4 separate regions of the Homo sapiens genome follow, and regions 2, 3 and 4 are each linked to region 1. The links are contacts of gene promoters, found by promoter capture Hi-C in blood cells and fetal thymus (Javierre and others, 2016). All regions are on one chromosome and are shown on one strand. The core of a region is centred on a gene start or on the middle of the fragment in contact, and the rest is flanking DNA. Distances in the headings are between cores, read along the strand shown.

Region 1 (5,981 bases), core at 2,519-5,018:
GCAACCTGCCCTCGTGAAGCTTATAGTTTGATGCGAGAGAGAAATATATATTAATCATATAATCACACAATAAGTATAAGATTGCAACTGTGACAAGGGCAACTAAGAAGAGATGTCTGGTGCTCTGAGAGCATAGCAAGGGTTTGACCCATCAAGGTCACGAGGGGTTGAATGAGTTGCGATCCCCAAGCATGAGGGTAAACCAGGTAAAGGGAAGAAGGGAGAACATTCTAGGCAGGGAGAACATGCAAAGCCCCCTGGTGGGAGGGAGCATGGTGAACAGGAGGCCAAGATAGCTGGGATAGAGTGAATAAGGAGGAAGATGCTGAAAAGGCAGGTGGGCCAGGCCACAGAGTCTCGTGGGCCACATGGAAGAATTTGCTTTATCCTGAGAGATGAAAGCACAGAGGATTTGATCAGATTTGCATACCAAACCAGTTCTGGACATGAAGGATGACAATCCCTATTATAATTGGTTGCTTCTGGTCAAGTATTTCATCTTTAATTGTTGACCCAGAAGACTACGTACAGCCATGTTGCCTAGACCGGGTACTCTAGAACATAAACTCTTCCAGGGCAGAGCCACCTACTTTTGACTTGTAGGTGTGATTTGCACAATGCATTCACTTATTAGAAGGTTGATTTTAAAAGACTGACAATCGGCCTGGCACAGTGGCACACGCCTGTAATCCCAGCACTTTGGGAGGCCAAGTGGGTGGATCACTTGAGGTCAGGACTTTGAGAACAGCCTGGCCAACATGGTGAAACCCTTCTCTACTAAACATACAAAAATTAGCTGGGTGTGGTGGCGCATGCCTGTAGTCCCAGCTACTTGGGAGACTGAGGCAGGAGAATTGCTTGATCTTGAGAGGCGGAGTTTGTAGTGAGCTGAGATCGCGCCATTGCACTCCAGCGTGGGTGACAAAGCAAGACTTTGTCTCAAATAAATAAATAAAAATAAAGAACTGACAATCATCTAGCCTAGTCTTTTTACATGAAAAAGCTAGGCGTTAGGCCAGGCATGGTGGCTCACTCTCACCAGTAATCCCAGCACTTTGGGAGGCCGAAATGAGCAGATCGCCTGAGCTCAGGAATTGGAGACCAGCCTGGGCAATGTGGCAAAACTCCATCTCTACAAAAAATACAAAAATTAGCTGGGCATGGTGGCATGTGCCTGTAGTCCCAGCTACTCAGGAGGCTGAGGTGGGAGGATTGCTTGAGCCCAGGAGGTTGGGGCTGCATTGAGCTGAGATCACAACACTGCACTTAGCCTGGGCGACAGAGTGAAACCCTATCTCAAAACAAAAAAAACTAGATGTCTTACATAAATGCTGCCTCATTTAAACCCCACCAGAGTCCCATCAGGAAGATGTTATTGTTATTCTTGCCGTATGGGTTCAGATAGGTTAAATAACATGTTCAGGTTACTCCACTACTAGATGCCCAGGAAAAATATTCAAGACCCTCCAAAACTCCTTCCTTAAAGGAGCCCAAGTCAAGGGCAAGTAGGTGCGATACTGAAAGGTTGTTCCTACAGGCTGCATCTTTGAGAGTGCTGTTGTAAATAATTTTCACTACTGCCACACCTACTTTGACCCCTAAGAACCAGGGGAGAGGCCCCGTCTTCCTCTTTCTAGTTATGTGCTTGCTCATTGGGGTGTGCCAGTAGCACGCCGGCCTCCAAAGGCCTGCCAAGCAAACAAGCATAAAACTGGCCTACACAGACTCTTTTTAGGCAAGTAATCAACACCTGTCTTTTCTCCTCCAGTTTTATTCAAATAGCCTAGTAACTAATAGAGCCGGTTCATCAAAGCAGTTACAGTCAGTGTCTTGAAGCTTGACTGCTCAATGAAGTTCAAGGCAAAATACCTTTAAAATACAGTTCTAATGTCCTATGTGTAGGAGGTATTTCTTCCTAGCAACATCCTTGGGGCACAAATAACTTTTGCCTGGGAAAACATCAGTATTCTCAAAAATAATGACACTTAACTTTTCTCCAAGGTTCTACATTTTCTCTTTCTGAAATGAGTAACAGGACAAATCAGACAGGTTCTGAGAGCCTGTACTTTTGTAGGAGGCGTGGGGAGCAAGGTTGGCACAAAAAAGAATTGAGGCATTGTTTCTGCTCTGGCACAAGAAAGTAGGACAAAGCCCTGAATTTCATGGGTGGGTTCTGATTCACCCTTTGCATTTCTTTTTTTTCCTTTCCTTTTTTTTTTTTTTTTTAAGACGGAGTCTCGCTCTGTCGCTCAGGCTGGAGTCCAGGGGCGCGATCTCGGCTCACTGCAACCTCTGCTTCCAGGGTTCAAGCGATTCTCCTGCCTCAGCCTTCTGAGTGGCTGGGACTACAGGCGCCCGCCACCACGCCCGGCTTTTTTTTTTTTTCTTTTTTTTTGAGACGGGGTTTCACCATGTTGGCCACTGACCTCACCTCGTGATCCACCCGCCTCGGCCGCCCAAAGTGTTGGGATTACAGGCGTGAGCCACCGCGCCCGGCCAGCATTTCCTTTTAATGTTCATATCCAACAATGAGGAGAGATGAGGAGCAGGGAGTCTGGGGGATGGGCATGGAGAAGGTAAGGAAGAGGTGAAATGCAGGCAGTACATATGTACTTGATGGAAGACACGAAACATAAGGCCAGAGAAACTAGACGATCAGAAGAGGGACTGGAAGAGGAAAGAGAATGGTTGAAAACGAACTGAGAAACTAAAGGGAAGAAAGCGAGGAAACAGAGGGAAAGAGGAAATGCTTACATGGGGGCAAGTACTGTTCTGTCCTTACCACTAAAGATCTGGCACGTGATCTGGTCTCCCTCTCACTTGACTCCAGCCAGACTGATCTTCTTGCTCTTGAACATTCATTCCTTCATCTGGACCCTTCCACTTGCTGCTCTTCCTGCAGGCATCTCCCAGGCCTGTCCTTCCTTCCTTCAAGTGGTCTCCCTAACCACACTCTACATGAAATAGCACCTCCCTTACCCTTATTTTCCTTACTCTGCTTTATTTATGCTTGAAGCTCCAGTCACCATCAGACAGAATTTCTGTGTTTTGGCTACCGGCTGTTGGCTGACATATACCCGCTCCTAGAACGTAAACTCCACGGGAACAGGGACTTTGTTTTGTTCTCTGCCGTATCTCCAGCACCTACAACACTGCCTGACACCCTGCTGGGTGACCGATATACGCCGGATGGCTCAGGGAGTGGGTGCAGGTCGAGGAAAGGGTATAGCAAGAGGTATGTCCGGGAGGGATGTTTAGGGTGTGCTTTTAGTCCAACAGAAAAGCACTCTCCATCCTTTTTCTATTTCTCTCCTCTCCTTCTCCCTCCCTCCGCACTTCAGAGGTTGGGGAAAAGCTGCGGGAAAGCAGGAAATAAGGAAAAATCCTAAATTGCCCAGCTCGAATTCCAATGAAAAATTAATGAGCGAGGAAGACAGGGAGGCAGGGAATAAGTGCACATGCAAAAGTTAAGGAAGCCAGTGGAAAGCAAAGAAAAAGGCGAACAGACGTCACTCTCTCTGGTCACGCTCCCCGACTCCCCAGAGGACAGGCGAGGCGCTTCTGGCACACGCCCCCGTCGCCCCGCGGCCGCGCGGCGTCACCACCACTTCGGAGAAGGCCAGGCCCCTCTTCCCCCGCGGGCTTCCCCGCGCCCGCACCGCCGAGGCCCCGGCACGCGCCCGGGGGAGCCGCGAAGACGGCGGGGACTACAGCTCCCAGGATGCCGAGCACAGGCGCGCCTGCGCAGTGCGGTCGGAGGCGGCGGTCTGTTCTCCGCTGAGGAGGAGCGGGGCAGAGGAGGGAGGCAGCGGGTGAGAGTTCAGAGTTCAGCAGCAGCAGCCCGAGCCCATGATTCCCATATGCCCTGTAGTTTCTTTCACCTATGGTGAGTCTAATGTGGCCCGCGAGGCCTCTGCCCGGCCCCCTCCCTGGCCCCGGGCAGCGGGGAGCCGCGGGGGTTGGGGCAGGCTCCGGGGAGGAGGCGGCGGCCGCCACCCGGGCGTGCGAGTGAGTGAGGGAGTGCGAGGCGGGAGGGGGAGGCGGCGCGGCCGCGGCCTGGGCCCCGCCAGGGCTGCTCTCACGGCGCCTCTCTCTTTCTCTCCCTGCCCTCCCTCGGCGTCTCGGCTCCTCTGTGTCTCTTGTCCCGCCATGGGACCCGACTCTTCGTGCCCGCCGCAGTGCCCAGCCGGCTGGGGGAAGATGCCAAAATGGCGACCGGCAACTACTTTGGATTCACCCACAGCGGGGCGGCGGCGGCGGCGGCTGCGGCCCAATATAGGTAACGGCATCCTGCCTTCTCTCTGTTCGCCCCTTGCTCTCCCCTCGGTCCGGATCCTGTCGATGCGACGCCCCCGCGCCCGTCCCCAGCCATCCCAGAGCCCCGGCCCGCTGCAGGCCTGGCCCGGCCCAGCCCGGCGGCCTCTCCCGCCCCGCCCCGCCCCGCCCCGCCTTGCCCGGCCCGGCCCGGCCCGCGGCGGGGAGCGGCCCCCAGTAGGGGGGAGGTAGAGACGGCGGAGGTGTAGGGACGTGGAGGCCTCAGGGCCCTTCAGCGGCCCCTTAACTAAAATGGCCTCCTGCGGCCGCCGAGCGGAGCCGCCACCGCCGCCCGGCAGGCCCCCCAGTCCCCGCCTCCGCGCGTCCAGCCCCCACCTCCCATCTTCTTCCCACTTGGGGGATGGAGAGGGTGGCTGAAGGGACCTCACGGGGAGTGCCGTGTCGCAGGTCCACTGGCTTCTCGTGCGACGCCTCTCTGCGTCGTCGCCTGGTGCTTCAACCCCCGGAGCCCAGATAACGTGTCGTTGTCTCGGGTACCTTTTCCTCCGCCGTGGGGCTTCTTCCCCAGACGCTCCATCGCTAGCGAGTCCTGCTGACAAACTGCGGGTGTCACTGTGTTCATCGGGTTCCTTTAGTTTTTCCTGCAAGGAGAGAGATTCACATACCAACCACCTGTAAATTGTGTAGTTCTTAGACTGGAAAAGATGTGCGAAGTTTCTAGTGCTGATAAATGAGTGCCCAGCCTTGTTTGAGCTATGGAGTTTAGGCCCCAGGTGGGCCTGTCATTCTCCTTGCGGGGGTCTTTCCCCTGCGGGGAATGGTGGGGAGGGAAGAAGATGCAAGTGAGATTGTACTGAGTCATTGTAATGCACCGGATGAAATCCCTGCTTTAAGGGAAGCTCTCATTTCTGAAGTCTGTAGTTCATTATACATCTTACCAAAGACAAACACAACAGTGGATTGTTAAATTGTTACTTTTGAGTCAATCTGAGACTTTTGATTCAGGCCATAAGCGCACACGGCTCCTGCGTGATATGCTTTTTATGTATGTTAGATGTTGGTTAAACCCAGGCAGTTTTTTTCATTTGATTTACTTCAGGAGGCACGGTGTTTAATGGAAAGGGCATCATTGGGAGCCAGAAGACCCGAGTTCAGTCTCTTTTGCTCTTGATTTTTTTTTTTTGAATAAATAATTTTTCTTAGAGAGAAAGGACCTATGTTGCCCAGGCTGATCTCGAACTCCTGGGCAGAGTCCTGCCTCGGCCTCCCAGAGTGCTAGGATTACCGGCATGAGCCACCACACCTGGCCTCTTTTGCTCTTGATTTTATGACGTTGGGAACATCATATAGTTGGGTTTTCATGTTCATCATCTGTAAAATGAGATGCTGGGCAAACTATCTTTTTGGGCTGAAACTTGTGGTTTTGAGAAACCAAGTTACTGTTTTCCATGGCATCCTAAGATGCCATTTGTTGTAAAAGGTACCATTATTGTATGTAGCACTAAAAAAAAATGCTGCCAGTTAAGACACTGCTTAAGACTCCATTAAGAGATGTCAAAATGTATAAATGTGCATCATATTGGTGAAACTAGATTTTACTAATTGTTGAATGCCATGTGGCATTTTACAAGTGTTTTTTCATGAGGCCTGCATTCCAGAAAAAGCACTGAGATGACAAATTATTACAGCAAAATCTTGGGGGCATT
Region 2 (5,908 bases), core at 1,615-4,114, 79 kb after region 1:
TAAAGTGCTGTGAGTAAATATATTACAAAAATGCAACAACCTGCAAATGGGCTTACAAATCAAAGTCTGTTGTGCATGTGTCAATAGTGATCCATGTCAACTGGACTATGTAAGTGGCTTTTGTATGTACAATTGCCCATTGTTGTGGTATTCATAAAATCCTATTTTAAGAGCATAAACATCTTAATTTGTAAAATGGGAATGATAGTCATATCTACCTTCAGAATGTGATTATAATGGTTAGAATTGGTTAATATATGTGAAGACTTAGAGCATCACTTAGCGAGGATAAGCACTCAGTAAGTGGTAGCTATAATGAAGAGGATAACTGCTACTACTGTTATTTAGCCAGAACTCCTAGTGCTAGAGATTGTTTCCAGTCTGTTACAAATTAAGAGCTGGGCAGAATATTTTTTGTGCTTTTCTTATGTAGTAATAGCCCTATTGTAAATCTTAGTACTGCCATTGCTGGGCTAATTAATGTGTGTCTTTTAAAAATTTGTGGCCAGGTGCAATGGCTCACACCTGTAATCTTAGCACTTTGGGAGGCTGAGATGGGCAGATTACCTGAGGTCAAGAGTTCAAGACCAGCCTGACCGATATGGAGAAACTCCCATCTCTACTAAAAATACAAAATTAGCTGGGCGTGGTGGCTCATGCCCATAATCCCAGCTACTTGGGAGGCGGAGGCAAGAGAACCGCTTGAACCTGGGAGGTGGAGGTTGCGGTGAGCTGAGATCACGCCATTGCAGCCTGGACAACAAGAGTGAAACTCCGTCTCTTGTTGGGGGGGGAAAAAAGTTTTGATGCAGTTTGCCATTTGTGCTTTAAAGGAAGATTTTACTGGTTTACACTCCCACCAGTGAAAGTGCCTGTGTTACTGAAATCTCATCAGGTGGCTTTGTTTTATTTGTTTTACATAGGTCTTTGTCTCTACCAGAGCTAGAAACTAATATTCATGGAAACTAGTTAATGTTTTCTCTCTGGATCACCCATTGATGAAAGATACTTATTGAAACATAGTAGGAAAGAAAACATAAGGGAAAGAAGAAAAAAAAAAGCATTATTTTGATTTCAGAAAGACCTGGGTTCAAATCTCAGCTTTATCACCTAGCTACATGACCTTGGACAAAACTATTTTTAGCTTCTTAAATTTATGGGATTTTTTTTCCATCTTGAATTAAATTATGCATATAAGTGATCATTTAGCATGGTGCCTGCCACTTACTAAGAGTTACTCTTATTATAACTGGAGATGGGATGGGAAAAAATACACTTCATGAGTGTTTTTAAAAAGCAAATAAGGCTGGGTCCAGTGGCTCACGCCTGTAATCTCATCACTTTGGCCTGTAATCTCATCACTTTGGGACACGAAGATGGAAAGATCACTTGAGCCCAGGAGTTCAAGACCAGCTCAGGCAACATAGCAAGACCTCATCTCTACTAAAAATAAAAATTAGCCAAGCATGGTAGTGGGTTCTGTAGTGCCAGCTACTCAGGAGGCTGAGGTCAATCACTTGAGCCTGGGAGGTCAAGGCTACAGTGAGTTATTTATTTATTTATTTATTTATTTACTTTATTTATTTATTTATTTATTATTTTTGAGATGGAGTTTCACTCTTGTCGCCCAGGCTGGAGTGCAGTGGCGTGATCTCAGCTCACCGCAACCTCCGCCTCCCAGGTTCAAGTGATTCTCCTGCCTCAGCCTCCTGAGTAGCTGAGATTACAGGCACCTGCCACCACACCCGGCTAATTTTTTGTGTTTTTGGTAGAGACAGGATTTCGCCATGTTGGGCAGGCTGGTCTCAAACTCCTCACGTCAGGTGATCCACCCACCTTGACCTCCCAAAGTGCTGGGATTACAGACGTGAACCACCACACCCAGCCTGCTACAGTCAGTTATAATCACACCACTGCTTTCCAGTCTAGGAAACAGAGCAAGACCCTGTCTCTCAAAAAATAAATAAAAAGCAAATATTACAGTGGAGTGCAGTGGCATTCACTTGTAGTCTCAGCTACTGGGGAAACTGAGGTATGATTACTTGAGCCCAGGAGTTCAAGCTCGGCTGCAGTGTGCTATGATCGTGCCTGCGAATAACTACTGCACTCCATCCTGGCAACATAGCGAGGGCCTGTCTGTAAAAAAAAAAAAAAAAATTAAAAAATCTTTTAAAGCAAATATTACAATCCTTGATTTTTTTAATCATTTAATATGGGGAGCTTTTTCCATCTCCAGTTATAATAATTCTTAATAAGTTATTCTCTTATATAATTATAGCCTCCAAGACCCTTTACATCAAAACCTGAAGTGTTGTAATCCTTAATTTGATTCTATTTATTTTTGATATTATCTTTTTACTTTTGAATTATATTCTTCTATTTTCATTGCTCTTTTAACTGTAGACATGTGCTTGGAGAATAGCTATGTTCTTTAGAAAATTAATATGTTTTAATTGCTTAGTTCACAGTAAATGGTGTCAGAGGTAGTTGATTAGTTTTATTGTGTGTGTTTAAGTGTATTGACTTTTTTGTGTTCCATAAATAATTGATTTCTTTCTTGACTTTTAATTAATTTCTGCTTTTACCTGCTGGTATAAATCAGAAATGCCTGATTCTTAAAGCCAATCAATAAACAGATTTTGAAAAAGCTTTGAGTTACTTGAAACACATTTTTATGTCTTGACGTACCTGAACTGTAGCTGATTACTTAATGCTCACTTTTCTCATAACATTTGCTAAAAGTACTCAGTAAAAATTTGAGGCATTTATCGAAAGTTACGTATTTTATGACTTCAATTTTGTGTTTTAATCACAACATCAATATTTTGCTAATTATTACTCTTGGTTTATTTTATCACTGAATTGTCAGGATTATTCTCACATTCTTTCCAAAATCATTCCATGTCATCATTTACTAAGTATTTACAAAATTCTGGCTACTTGTACTAGGCAAGTGGGTTCAAGATGAGTAACACTGACCTTATCCTCAAGGGTCTCAAGTCTTTTCGCATCTTAAAATATTCCATACACATGCATATTCCATACATACACATAGAGTTTTCTAGATGACTGAAGCTTGTCCCTTAAAATATTAAAACTTAACTTTAAAATGAAAATCCGTAAAAAATGAAAAATGTCTTGAGGGGCTGTTGCTGTGATGCCTGTAATCCCAAGGCTTTGGGAGGCCAAGGCAGTTGGTTTACATGAGTCCAGGAGTTCAAAACCAGCCTGGACAGCATAGTGAGACCCCATCTCTACAAAAATTAGCCAGGCATGGTGGCTGCGCCTGTTGTCCCAGTCGTACAGCGGCACGACCACAGCTCACTGCAACCTCAAGCTCTTGGGCTCAAGTGATCCTGAGCTGAGGTGGGAGGATCACTTGAGCCCAAGAGCTTGAGGCTGCAGTGAGCCATGGTCATGCCACTGCATTCTAGCCTGGGTGACAGAACAAGACCCTTTCTCAAAATAAAAAAGAATCTTGAACATCTTCCTGCATTCTTCAACGGAATAAACTGAGCTGTCTTAATTTTTTTAATTGTGACTTACATTTATCACTATTAATATTCATTATTTTCAGGTTTTTTCCAATCGTGCTGGAAGCTATCATTTATTTTTCATAGTTGTTAATGTGCGCTATTTCTTTAAATTCTCATCTCTTAAAATGTAAAGAGATTCTGAGAAATGGCCTTGGAGTGAATAGGTTGACGCAGTTTTTACTTCTGATAAATAAGTCCATGAGCTTTTTTAGTGTATAGCCAAAAGTATGGATTCTCACTAATGTCTTTTCAGCTTTCATTATCATCTTAAGGATTTCATAGTGGTTCCAAACTAGTTTCTTTGAATTGCTGTTGGTAGTCTCATTTAAACTTTTAAGTAAAAGCTACAACATGGATAAGCCTTAAATATTATGCTAAGTGAGAGAAGTCAAACACAGAGCCACGTATTACATGATTCCATTTGTATAAAACGTCCATAGTAGGCAAATCTGTAGAAACTGGAAGTGATTTAGGGGTTGCCAAGGGCTAAAAGAAAGGGAGAATGGAGAATGACTACTAGTGGCTATGTGGTTTCTTTTGGAGATCATGAAAATGTTCTGGAATTAGGTAATGGTGATTATTGAACAACTTTGTGAATATACTAAAAACTACTGAATTGTACAGTTTAAAAGGGTGAATCTTACATGTGAATTATATCTCAATTTTTAAAAATCTAAATACAAATTTTTATCATGAGACCCTTCAAAACACCACTCCCTGCATTGGGTTTTTGTTTTGTTTTTTTTGTTTTTTTGTTTGTGAAGAAAGATGGTCTCACTCCATCACTCAGGGTGCTAGAGTGCAATGGCGCAATCTCAGCTTACTGCAGCCAGTAAACGATCCCAGGCTCAAGCGATCCTCCCGCCTCAGTCCCCCAAGTAGCTGGGGCCACCAGCATGTGCCACCACATCCAGCTAATTTTTGGTTTTTTGGGGTTTTTTTTGTAGAGACGGGGTTTTGCCATCTTGCCCAGGCTGGTCTTTAACCCCTGAACTCAGGCAATCTGCCTCCCAAAGTGTTTGGATTACAGACGTGAGCCACTGTGCCCGGCCTATTCCTTAATTTTGAATGTTTTTATATTATATGTAATATTTATTTTCTGTTTTTGTGACTTGTTCTATGTAGCTTTTTCAGTCTTTAAAATTTTTTCAGTCTTTAAAATTTTAGTTTGAAAATGAGTAATTCCTTTGGTAAGCTGTTAAACACATTTTTATGTTGTATTTTTAGGCTATGGAGTTACTAGTAGAGAAAGCAATCAGCAGTGCTTCTAGCCCTCAGAGCCCTGGGGATGCACTGAGAAGAGTTTTTGAATGCATTTCTTCAGGGATTATTCTTAAAGGTAACTCTTACTTTGTTTTTAATGAAGTAAAATGAAGTTTACTCATTTGCTGGTTGAATAATTTTTTTTATAAGTGGACAATGCTAATAATTTCCTCTCCCTGTGGTGATTGCTGTAGGTAGTCCTGGACTTCTGGATCCTTGTGAAAAGGATCCCTTTGATACCTTGGCAACAATGACTGACCAGCAGCGTGAAGACATCACATCCAGTGCACAGGTACTGGTATTCCTAAATTCAGAGCCCTATTGGGTTACTCCATTAAGGTTTTATTTTTCTGTTATTGTCTTAAGGAATATTATAAGTCACTATATAATATTCGTTCTTCTGCTTCTGTAGTAAGCAAGCCCCTAGAAAGGATATTAAAATAGCTTGCCCAAAACTAGATTTCACTAATAGAGTTTAAAATTTTATTATTTAATTATATGGGCATTTCTAAGTAAGTGTATTGTATATTATAAAAATACAGCAATATTTTCAGTGTCTCATTAAATCTGGGTAATAGGTTATGTATCAAGATCAGCAGAAATTCTTATGTCCTCTGGTTGTACAAAAGTAATTTGCTGTGGTGTTTATGGTCATTATTGTTATAATTTAACCTTTCCTGCCACTGTCAAATAAAGTAAATAAAAATGTGGGCTCTGGAGACAGACTCCCTGGATTTGACTACCAACTCTGCCATCTCATCTGTAATATGGATATAAAAGCAGTATCTGTCTCAAACAGGATTGTTGAGAAGATTAAATGAGTTAATATGTGTAACCATCTTAACACCTGGTATATGGAAGGATCTTAAATGTTAGCTAGTATTATCATCTTATTAACCCTATTGAATAATTATGAAAAAGAAAAAACATTGAACCTAATGAATGAATGGAAAAAAATCAACCTAAGATTGGTACAGCTTCCCTTTGTTGATTCCAGAAATGTGCTGAGTAGGGGAAAAAAGCATACTAGCTATGAACAGTAATTCACTCTAAGATGCTTGGGAGTTGTTGGATTTAAGATCTTGATTGGTTATCTTGAATAATTTGGA
Region 3 (5,418 bases), core at 1,226-3,725, 76 kb before region 1:
CTGAGAGGCTTCCAAGCCACAAAGAGATTTTACTTCCTGCTGAACAGCGTTGGCTAAGGCTTTCTTGACTCATCCAGACCTCACGACCGCTGGATCCGAGTTGGCGTAATCCACCTCAGTCACTTGTCCAGAGCAGGCGTCGTGGGCCCAGAACTTGAGTCGCTTTCCTCTCTTGGGCATGGCGACCGTATCGGGGCGAGGCCTGCCTAGCTGGCCGGGCCCCCGGGCCATGTCTCCGGCCCGGCTCCGTGGCCTTCCCACACCGGAGGCCGCTAACTCTCCCACAACTGGCTATTTTTTGTATTTTTTGTAGAGACGGGGTTTTGCCCTGTGCCCAGGCTGGCCTCAAACTCCTAAGCTTAAGCAATCCTCCCGCCTCAGGCTCCCATGAGCCACTATGCCTGGCCAAATTCGTCGATTTTTAAACCTAAGTTTTCCCCTTTTCCTCATATACTTGATTTCACATCTTCATCTCTCATCTGAACTATTGTTTCATCATAGGACTTACCGCTCTCTGCAGTGATTTATTCAGATTACATCTGTGTTGAGGAGTAGGCACCGGATGGATGTTCTGTGGTGCTAGTTCTTACCCATGTATGTATGAAACCTGGGCAAACCCCATAGTTTTTCATTAATTCTAAGAGTTAAAAAATATTCCGATCGCGGCCAGGCGTGGTGGCTCACTCCTATAATCCCAGCACTTTGGGAGGTCAGGGCAGGCAGATCACTTAAGGCCAGGAGTTCAGGACCAGCCTGGCCAAGATGGTGAAACCCCGTCTCTACTAAAAATACAAAAATTAGCCAGGCATGGTGGCTCGTACCTGTAATCCCAGCTAGTCGGGAGGCTGGGGCAGGAAAATCATCTGAGCCTGGGAGGTGGAGGTTGCAGTGAGCCGAGATCGCGCCATTGCACTCCAGCCTGGGCAACAAGAGCAAAACTCCATCTCAAAAAAAAAAGATAAGAAAGAAAATATTCTGATTGCTTTCAGCCACAAGAAAAACTAATGTTATAAATTAATATGTCTCATGCAGTATAATCATCGGAACTCTTGACTTTATGTCAACTTGCCTCAGCGTGGCCTGCTCAAGGCAGAAGCATGCAGTCAAGGAGAGGGTGATTGTCTGCTTCTCTTTTTCCTCTGGGAGCCTCTCCTCCACAGCCCGCACTTTCTGGGACTTCTGACCCTCCAGGCTTGGAGTTTCTCTGAACATGTTAAATGATTTGAGCTGATGCTTCTCTCCTGGTTACTCCGATGGGCTGGCCAGGAAGCTGTCTGACTGCTCCTCTTCACTTGGAGTTGGGGAATGGCCTCTGCTTTGGTTTGTCATTCATCACCCTTGGCAACCTTAGCATGGGGTGGCCGTCTCCACACGGACTGTCTCTCTGTTGTGTCCCATCGTACTCTCAGGCAGTCCTCTTGGGCAAGATCTCTTTTTCTCTTTTTTAAAGACAGGGTCTTGCTATGTTGCCTAAGTTGGAGTGCAGTGGCTATTCATAGGTGTGATCATAGCTCGCTGCAGCCTCCAACTCCTGGGCTCAAGTAATCCTCCCGCCTCAGCCTCCCAAGTAGCCAGGACTATAGTCACACCCCACAGTGCCAGGCAAAATCTCTTTTTAAATGATGCCAGGTCAGAATTCATACATCAGTTTTCACCTCTGGTCCCAGAAAATAAGCACCTTAGACCCACTGCTTGGGGAGTGCAGCTGCTTCTAAGGCAGCCTCGCAACCTTTTTTTTTTCAATGACAACTTTATTGACATTTAATGCACGTATCATAAAATTCGCCACTGAAGCACATTCCATGGGTGTTAACATATTCACAAGGTTGCGTAACCATCCCCTCTCTCTAATTTCAAATATTTTCATCACTCCAAAAAGAAACCCCTGACCCATTAGCAATCATTCTGCATTCCCTCCTTCTTCTAACCTCTGGAAACCCCCAATCTACTTCCTGTTGCTATGAATTTTCTTATTCTGGACATTTCACATAAGTGCAACTGTACAAGATGTGGTCTTTTGTGTCTGCCTTCTTTAACTTAGCATTATGTTTTCAAGGTTCATCCACACTGTAGCATGAATCAGTATATCATTCCTTTTTATGACTGAAAATATTCCATTGTTTGGAGATACCACATTTTGTTTATTTATGTTTGTTTATTGATGGACATTTGGGTTGTTTCCATTTGTTGGCTATTATGAATAATGCTTCTATAAGCATTCATGTGCAAGTTTTCGTATGGACATATGTTTTCATTTCTCTTGGGCATATACATAGGAGCACAATTGCCTGGTCATAAGGTGACTCTATGTTTAAATTTTTGAGGAACTGCCAAACTGTTTTCCAAAGTGGCTGCACCGTTTTACAATCCCATCAGCAATGTATGAGGGTTTCTGATTTCTCCATATCCTGGCCAGTGCTTCCTATTTTGTCTCTTTGTTATTTTACCCATCTAGCAAGCATGAAACAGTATTTCACTGAGGCTTTGATTTCCATTTTCCTAAACTACCGGATGATGTTGAGCAGCTGTTCATGTACTTATTAGTCGCTTGTGTATCTTCTTTAGAGAAAGTCTATTCAAATCCTTTGCCCATTTTTTTTCAACTTCTATTTTTGATCAGGGGGTACACGTCCAGGTTTGTTACATGGGTAAATTGTGTGTCACTGAGGTTTGGTGTACAAATGATTCCATCACCCAGGTAGTGAGCATAGGCAGTTTTTCAACCCTCGCCCTTCTTCCATCCTCCCTTTTCTAGTAGCCTCCAGTGTCAGTGGTCAAGGCAGCTCATGCCTATGATCCCAGCAATTTGGGAGGCCAGGGAAGGAGGATCGCTTTTGTCCAAGAATTTGAGAACAGCCAGGGCAACTTAGTGAGACTCCAACTCTGCAAAAAAAAAATTTTTTTTTTTTTATTTAGCCAGGTGTGGTGGCACATGCCTGTAATCCCAGCTACTCAGGAGGCTGAGTTGGGAGGATCACTTGCGCCCTGGAAATTGAGGCTGCATTGAGCTGTGATTGTGCCACTGTACTCCAACCTGGGTGACAGAGTGAAATCTTGTCTCAAAAAAAAAATAAAAATAAATTAATTTTGAGACAAGATCTCACTCTGTCCCCAGTGTCATTGTTCCCTTCTTATGTATTTGTGTGCTCAATATTTAGCGCCCACTTATAAGTTAGAACATGTGGTGTTTGGTTTTCTGTTCCTGCATTAATTCACTTAAGATAATGGCCTCCACCTGCATCCATGTTACTGCAAAGGATGTGATTTCATTCTTTTTTATGGCTGTGTAGTATTCCGTGGTGTATATGTACCACATTTTCTTTATCTAGTCCACCATTCATTGGCACCTAGGTCGATTCCTTGTCTTTGCTATGGTGAAAGTGCTGTGATAAACTTATGAGTGCACATGCCTTTTTGGTAGAATGACTTACTTTCCTTTGGGTATATACCCAGTAATAGGATTGCCAAGTTGAATGGTAGTCCTGTTTTAAGTTGAGAAATCTCCAAACCCTTTTCCATGGGGACTGAACTAATTTACATTCCCAGCAACAGTGTATAAGCATTCCCTTTTCTATACAACCTTGGCAACATCTGTCATTTTTTGACTTTTTAATAGCCATTCTGAGTGATGTGAGATGGTATCTAATTGTGGTTTTGATTTGTATTTCTTTAATGATTAGTGATGTTGAGCATTTTTTCATATATTTGTTGGCTGCATGTATATCATATTTTGAGAAGGGTCTGTTCATGTCCTTTGACCATTTTTTAATGAGGTTGCTTGTTTTTTGCTTGTTGAATTAAGTTCCTTATAGATTCTGGATATCAGACCTTTGTTGGATGCATAGTTTGCAAATATTTTCTCCCATTCTGTAGGTTGGCTGTTTAGTCTGTTGATAGTTTTTGTTTGTTTGTTTGTTTGTTTTGCTATGCAGAAATTCTTTATTTTAATTAGGCTCCACTTGTCAATTTTTTTGTTGCAATTGCTTTTGGGCACTTCATTATAAACTTTTTGCCAAGGCCAATGTCCAGAATAGTATTTCCTAGGTTTTCTTCTAGAATTTGTAAAGTTTTAGGTCTTACATTTAAGACTTCAATCCATCGTGTGTTAATTTTTGTATATGGTGAAAGGCAGGAATCCAGTTTGATTCTTCTGCAAATGGCTAGTCAGTTATCCCAGCACCATTTATTGAATAGGGAGTTCCTTCCACATTGCTTGTTATTGTCAACTTTGTCGGAGATCATATGGTTGTAGATGTGTGGCTTTATTTCTGGGTTCTCTATCCATTGGTCTATGCACCTGTTTTTGTGCCAGTGCCATGCTATTTTAACTTCTGTAGCCTTATAGTTTGAATTTGGGTAGTGTGATGCCTCTAGCTTTGTTCTTTTTGTCTAGGATTGCTTTGGTTATCCCCTTTTGCCTATTTTTAAACTGCGTATTTTGTGCTTTGGTTGTTGAATTGTTAGAGTTATTTATATATTCTGGATCCTAGCCTCCTTTTTAAAGCCAGCTGAAAGGCATCACCAACTGTGGTTTTGCCCTGGGATTTTTCAAACTGTAGTAGGCTAGGACAGGGGACCTTTGTCAAGCTTTTTAGATAGTTCTCTTGTAAGCATGGCACATTAACCACTCTCTCCAAAGAAATTCTTTCTCTCCAATCTTTTTTTTTTTTTTTTTTTTTTTTTTTTTTAGACAGGGTCTTGCTCCCTGTCACCCGGACTGGAGTGCAGTGGTACGATCTTGACTCAGCAGCCTCAACCTCCCGGGCTCAAGCAATCTTCCCACCTCAGCCTCCTGAGTAGCTGGGACCACAGGCTCGCCCCACCATGCTCAGCTAATTTTTTAATTTTTGTAGAGACAGGGTCTCACTGTCCAGGCTCATCTTGAACTCCTGGGCTGAGGCAATCCTCCCACCTTGGCCTCCCAAAGTATTGGGATTATAGGCATGAGCCACCATACTCAGACATCGTTTCCAGACTTTTTGATCTTCAACTCAATCTTTTATGACTTTGAGGTGGATGAAGGGACAAGAATAACAAAAATTGTTTTATCTGCTCCCTTTCCAGGTCCCATATAGTTGGGGTGACTAATTTATCATCCAAACCAGAAAACTTTTGAATGAAAGGAGGTACGGGCCAGGCACTGTGGCTCACACCTGTAATCCTAGCATTTTGGGAGGCCGAAGTGGGTGGATCACCTGAGGTCAGGAATTCAAGACCATCCTGACCAACTTGGTGAAACCCCATCTCTACTAAAAATGCAAAAAATTAGCCAAGCGTGGTGGCAGACACCTGTAATCCCAGCTACTCAGGAGCCTGAGGCAGGAGAATCACTCGAACCCGGGAGGCAGAGGTTGCAGTAAGCTGACATCGTGCCACTGCACACCAGCCTGGGCAATAAGAGCAAAACACCATCTCAAA
Region 4 (5,998 bases), core at 1,481-3,980, 97 kb after region 1:
AAATAAAATCTGGAAATATGAAACAGTTATATTACTAACTTAAAGCCTGAATTTTTTTTTTTTTTTTTTTTTTTTGAGACAGAGTTTTGCTCTGTCCCCCAAGCTGGAGTGCAGTGGCACAATCATGGCTCCCTGCAACCTCTACCTCCCAGGTTCAAGCCATTCTGCTTCAGCCTCCCGAGTAGCTGGAATTACAGGCAAGTGCCACCACACCTGGCTAATTTTTGTATTTTTAGTAGAGACAGAGTTTCACCATGTTGTCTAAGCTGCTCTCCATTTCCTGACCTCAAGTGATCTGCCGGCCTTGGCCTCCCGAAGTGCTGGGATTACAGGTGTGAACCACCGCGCCTGGCCTGAAAAATATTTTTTAACATTAATTAAGCTGATTCTATGTTAAATACAAAGCTAATATATTCACCTCATTCTAATATAATCCCAAGTGAGACATGCTATTTAATATTAAAGAAATTGGGTCTTTAGTTTGGAAAGGACTATTCAGTTTAGCAACAAACCTAATGTGAAAGCCTTTTTCTAAAAAAAGGAAGCAACCTATGGAATAAAAGTATGAAATTGATTAAATTTCATAAAATTTAATCAAATACGGAATAAAAGTATGAAAAGATTAAATTGATTGTAGGAACTGATTACTCTAAAAATACATGAAGATTAAGAGTTCAGGCTGAGTACAGTGGCTCACGCCTGTAATGCCAACACTTTGGGAGGCCCCAGTGGGCAGATCACCTGAGGTCAGGAGTTCGAGAACAGCCTGGCCAACATGGTGAAACCCTGTCTCTACTGAAAATACAAAACTTAGCCAGTGTGGTGGTGCATGCCTGTAGGCCCAGCTACTTGGGATGCTGAGGGAAGAGAATCTCTTGAACCTAGGAGGTGGAGGTTGCAGTGAGCCAAGATCATGCCACTGCACTCCAGCCTGGGCAACAGAGCAAGACTCCATCTCAAAAAAAGAAAAAGAAAAATGAGAAAACTTGATGACACAGGGCTTGTGTTTCTACATGGTAACAATTAGCTAAAGCTGAGAGTAGGGGCCACTCCCTTTAGAAGATAAATTTTAGACATAACCTGTTCTGAACAGTTTACCACAGCCTCCATCATTTCCTATTTGTCTACCAGGCTAGCCCTGTTGGCATTTGATTTTATTATATCTCAGACCCCAGACATTTTACCTATGTATTCTTCCAACTTTAACATGGAACCGTATCTGTTAAGTTTGGGAACAATCTCTAGTTATTTTCCATTCTAAATTTTTAAATTCTGTAATCAGGTATTTCCTATACATTAGGATATTTAATGCTCCTCTACTTAATGTAACAGACAGCCACAGAGAAACACTTGCACTTTCTTCACTGATTTTTTTCAAAAGAAATATCAGGAAGAAGGCCTGAAATTTAAGCAAGCTACAGCCTTAAGAAAATCCATCCTTTCATTGGAGAGACCAAATCCATTACCTTCTGAAAATCTCAGTCACGTTGGAGTAGCCTGCCTGTCATCCTGTCTGCTCTCTGGACTAAGAGAAAGAGGTAGAAGAAAGGGCATTGGGAGTTGAAGAAGAAGAAAACATAGATGAGCTAAAAGGAAAATAAGATATTTCTAGATGACAAAATTTCTAATTGTATTGTTACTGGAAAGGGGTCCCAATTTCTTGGATCTCACATGAGAAAGAATTCAGGGCAAGTCCATAGAGTAAGGTGAAAACAAGTTTATTAGGAAAGTAAAGGGATAAAGAATGGCTACTCCATAGGCAGAGCAGCAGCCTGGGCTGCTCAACTGCTTATACTTATTGTTACTTCTTGATTATATGCTAAACAAAGGGTGGATTATTTATGAGTTTTCTGGGAAAGGGGTGGGCAATTCCTGGAACTGAGGGTTTCTCCCATTTTTAGACCATGTAGGGCAACTTCCTGACATTGCCATGGCATTTGTAAACTGTCATGGTGCTGGTAGGAGTGTCTTTAAGCACGTTAATGCATTATAATTAATGTATAATGAGCAGTGAGGATGACCAAAGGTCACTTTCATCACCATCTTTGTTTTGGTAGGATTTGGCCAGCTTCTTTACTGCATGCTGTTTTATCAGCAAAGTCTTTGTTACCTGTATCTTGTGCCAACCTCCTATCTCTTCCTGTGACTACAAATACCTAACCTCCTGAAAATGCAGGCCCATAGGCCCATAGCCTTATTTTACCCAGCTTCTATTCAAGATGGAGTTGCTCTGGTTTGAATGCCTCTGACATATTTTCCCCCTGCCTTTTATAAGAAAACCCTTAATCCTGAGTTCTAGAGGGACAAAGATCCATCTTCTGTAACTTCTTCAGGGTGAGTAAGGGCAATGATATTCCTGGTTAACAAATTAGGGTCTCTTGTATTTGTGGTAGAGAGGCACTCAGTAAGAAAGCATCAGTATGGTGAGGGCCATTCATAACTTTGAGTTCCAACAAAAGGTAATATCTAGAAGATTAATAAGTGTTCAATTTAAGAAAACATTCAGTAAGCTTATCCTGCATTCCTACACAAAGAGTACAACAGCAATATATTCCACAACAGTAAAGCAAAATAAGTAAAATTATCCCAAGTAAACTAAATAGAAGACTTTCCATGAACTGGGCAACTGTTGGAACCAAGCTGATACAGGGTTGCCAGCTGATTCCAATATGTGCCTAGAATTAGAATACTTATCCAGACTTTTTTCACAGTACCCATCCATCTCTCTTGTTTCTTCTAAGCTGTAGCCAAAGATCACTGGTTGGTTCACAGGAATAAGCAGTCGGTCTAAATTGCAGAATAAAAAAAAACTTAAAAAATACTGATGAGACTAGAATCTAATCACAGGTGTACCATTGTTCTTGAAACCTGATTTTTTTCTCTTTCCAGTCTTCCATTTTTACTAAAGACAAATCATACTAAGACCGATTTGCTTGCAAAAATAAGCTTTTTTGAAAAGATAAATCAGGTAGAGAGAAAACAAATATACTCCAAATTTTGTTCATGGGAATATACTTTACTCAATTGTTAAAAGCTGTAAATAGCTCAAAAGAAAAGTTGTCTTGACTCCGAAAAACAAAACAAAGGATTAGCAATATTTTAAGCAAAAGGTCAAAAAAGATTACTTCAGTCTTCCATTAGTTCAGTCCTTGAAGTTAACTCCTGTTGATATTCATGAACATTTCAACTCTCCATGAGAGTCCTGAAAGTTTTTTCCTCTATTCTAGTGTAACAGTCTTCAAAGTTGTCAGGAACCTGCATTCAACAGCACTTGTCAAAGTCCTACAGCTAATTATACACCACCTTTTGAAGAGGATTAAAACAAAACAACAATAGTCTGTGGATGACAAAAACTCTTAGACCAGCCATTATTTAAGCCACAATGGATTAGGAATTTTGGTTACCTCTATGGTACACAATAATTTTACATAACAATTATAATTATTAATAACATACACTATGTCATATCAGAATTATAGGAGTTTCCCATAATTTTGGAACACATACCAATAATGTATTTATACAAATATAGTGCAAAGAAAGCCACCATTTCATATTTGGCAATGCTTCCTATATGATTTTTATACCAAATAAACCAGTTTCAGCTTTGCATTAATGTACTATTAATGTTAAACCCAATTCTTAATAAAACCTTGGCTGGGTGCAGGGGCTCATGCCTGTAATCCCAGCACTTTGGGAGGCCGAGGCAGGCGGATCAACTGAGGTCAGGAGTTCGAGACTAGCTTGGCCAACATGGCAAAACCCCGTCTTTACTAAAAATAGAAAAAAATTAGCTGGGCGTGGCGGTGGGCACCTGTAATCCCAGCTACTCAGGAGGCTGAGACAGGAGAATCTCTTGAACCCGGGAGGCAGAGGTTGCGGTGAGCCAAGATCACGCCATTGTACTCCAGCCTGGGCAACAAGAGTGAAACTCTGTCTCAAAAAACAAACAAACAAAAAACAAAAAACAAAAAAAAACATTAATTTTTCACAAACCTTCAGATTTATCCTAACTTGAAACAATCATTTAACCCTTTAAGCAAAAAAAAAAACCCCACATTCCCATGCCTTCTTAAAATATTTTACTTGGGGTGGGTGCAGTGGCTCATGCCTATAATCCCAGCACTTTGGGAGGCTGAAGCAGGCAGATCATGAGGTCAGGAGATCAAGACCATCCTGGCTAACACGGTGAAACCCCATCTCTACTAAAAATACAAAAAATTAGCCAGGCGTGGTGGCAGGCACCTGTAGTCCCAGCTACTCGGGAGGCTGAGGCAGGAGAATGGCGTGAACCCGGGAGGCGGAGCTTGCAGTGAGCAGAGATCACGCCACTGCACTCCAGCCTGGGCCTGGCTGACACAGCGAGACTCAGTCTCAAAAAATATATATATAGATAGATATAGATAGATAGATGATAGATAGATGATAGATAGATAGATGATAGATAGATAGATAGATAGATAGATAGATAGATAGATATAGATAGATATTTTACCAAAAACACATTTCACTTTTCTTACACACCTTGCATGTAAAACTGTTTTTACTTCCCAAAAATTACTTAAGTCACATGAACTAAAAGACATTGCACCTTTTACTTTTCTGACGAAATATTTGAATTAAGCTCTTCTTATTTTATAAGCCAATTAATCAGCTCTTTCATATATAAACATCACACACAGCACATATAAATAGGTAGAGAGAAGAAGATCCAGTAGTTGTAAGATTTTTCATTTGCCAGTTTCTTTTTTTTTTGAGACGGAGTCTCACTTTGTCACCAGGCTGGAGTGCAATGGCACGATCTTGGCTTACTGCAACTTCCACCTCCCAGGTTCAAGCGATTCTCCTGTCTCAGCCTCTTGAGTAGCTGGGATTACAGGCAAGTGCCAACACGCCCAGCTAATTCTTGTATTTTTAGTAGAGACGGGTTTCACCATGTTGGCCAGGATGGTCTTGATCTTTTGACCTCATGATCTGCCCGCCTTGGCCACCCAAAGAGCTGGGATTACAGGTGTGAGCCACTGAGCTTGACTTTTTTTTTTTTTTTTTTTTTTTCGAGACAGAGTCTTGCTCTGTCCCTAGGCTGGAGTGCAGTGGCACCATCTCAGCTCACTGCAACCTCCACCTCCCAACTTCAAGCGATTCTCACGCCTCAATCTCCTGAGCAGCCGGAATTACAGGCGCTTGCCACCACGCCCAGCTAAATTTTTTTGTTTTTTTTTTTGAGACAGAGTCCTGCTCTGTCTCCAGGCTGGAAAGCAGTAGTGCGATCTCAGCTCACTGCAACCTCCACCTCCCAGGTTCAAGCAATTCTCCTGCCTTAGCCTCCCAAGTAGCTGGGACTACAGGCATGCGCCACTACGCCCAGCTAATTTTTGTATTTTTAGTAGAGATGGGGTTTCACCATGTTGGCCAGGCTGGTCTCAATCTCCTGACCTCGTGACCTGCCCCCGCCTCAGCCTCCCAAAGTGCTAGGATTATAGGCATGAGCCACCAGGCCCAGCCAATTTTCTGTATTTTTAGTAGAGACAAGGTTTCACCACGTTGGCCAGGCTGGTCTCAAACTCCTGGCCTTAAATGATCCACCTGCCTTGGCCTCCCAAAGTGCTAGAATTACAGGTATAAGCCACCTCACCCAGCCTCATTTGCCAGTTTCTTAATTGGATTATGGGCTTCAGGGTAGAGCCCTTGGAGGGAAAGGCCAGGAAAGCATACAGTTTCTATGACAGGCACAGCTGGAAGACAAAAACAGACCCCCAAAATGAAGGGTCCCATTTTTATACTGAATCCTGGATCCCCAAAAGAGAAACGCAACAGAACAAGACAATGCAAAGATTTTACCGTGCATTTCTTTGAGTCTCACTCTGTCGCCCAGGCTGGAGTGCAGTGGCACAACTTCGGCTCACTGCAACCTCCACCTCCCAGGTTCAAGCAATTCTCATGCCTTAGTAACTGAGATTACAGGAACGCACTACCATGCCTGGCTAATTTTTGTATT

Evidence for each region. Contacts are between HindIII fragments. The CHiCAGO score rates a contact against its expected background, and 5 or more counts as called.
Region 2: a contact is called between a fragment that was not itself captured here and the fragment with the promoter of ZFR in region 1, in 3 of 17 cell types (activated CD4 T cells, total CD8 T cells and total B cells). The highest score is 6.3, in activated CD4 T cells.
Region 3: a contact is called between a fragment that was not itself captured here and the fragment with the promoter of ZFR in region 1, in 1 of 17 cell types (activated CD4 T cells). The highest score is 5.3, in activated CD4 T cells.
Region 4: a contact is called between a fragment that was not itself captured here and the fragment with the promoter of ZFR in region 1, in 1 of 17 cell types (total CD8 T cells). The highest score is 5.0, in total CD8 T cells.

Annotation. Positions count from the first base shown.
Region 1 is chr5:32,442,527-32,448,507 of GRCh38, reverse strand. ZFR (zinc finger RNA binding protein) reads left to right here and starts at 3,768. Exons shown (of 20, transcript NM_016107.5): 1 at 3,768-3,886; 2 at 4,180-4,279. The coding sequence starts at 3,850. RefSeq lists silencers at 3,466-4,155, 4,386-4,725 and an enhancer at 4,117-4,674. The HindIII fragment of the contact is 7,512 bases long and covers 1,839-5,981 here.
Region 2 is chr5:32,363,131-32,369,038 of GRCh38, reverse strand. ZFR (zinc finger RNA binding protein) reads left to right here. Exons shown (of 20, transcript NM_016107.5): 18 at 4,764-4,875; 19 at 4,994-5,091. Among named protein-coding and RNA genes, the nearest start is that of MIR579, 28 kb to the left of the region's middle. The HindIII fragment of the contact is 427 bases long and covers 2,651-3,077 here.
Region 3 is chr5:32,517,571-32,522,988 of GRCh38, reverse strand. The region is part of intron 2 of LOC124900954 (a long non-coding RNA gene); the gene reads right to left. It also overlaps the pseudogene TMEM183AP2. Among named protein-coding and RNA genes, the nearest start is that of SUB1, 65 kb to the left of the region's middle. The HindIII fragment of the contact is 4,229 bases long and covers 361-4,589 here.
Region 4 is chr5:32,344,175-32,350,172 of GRCh38, reverse strand. No RefSeq gene overlaps it. Among named protein-coding and RNA genes, the nearest start is that of MTMR12, 34 kb to the right of the region's middle. The HindIII fragment of the contact is 436 bases long and covers 2,513-2,948 here.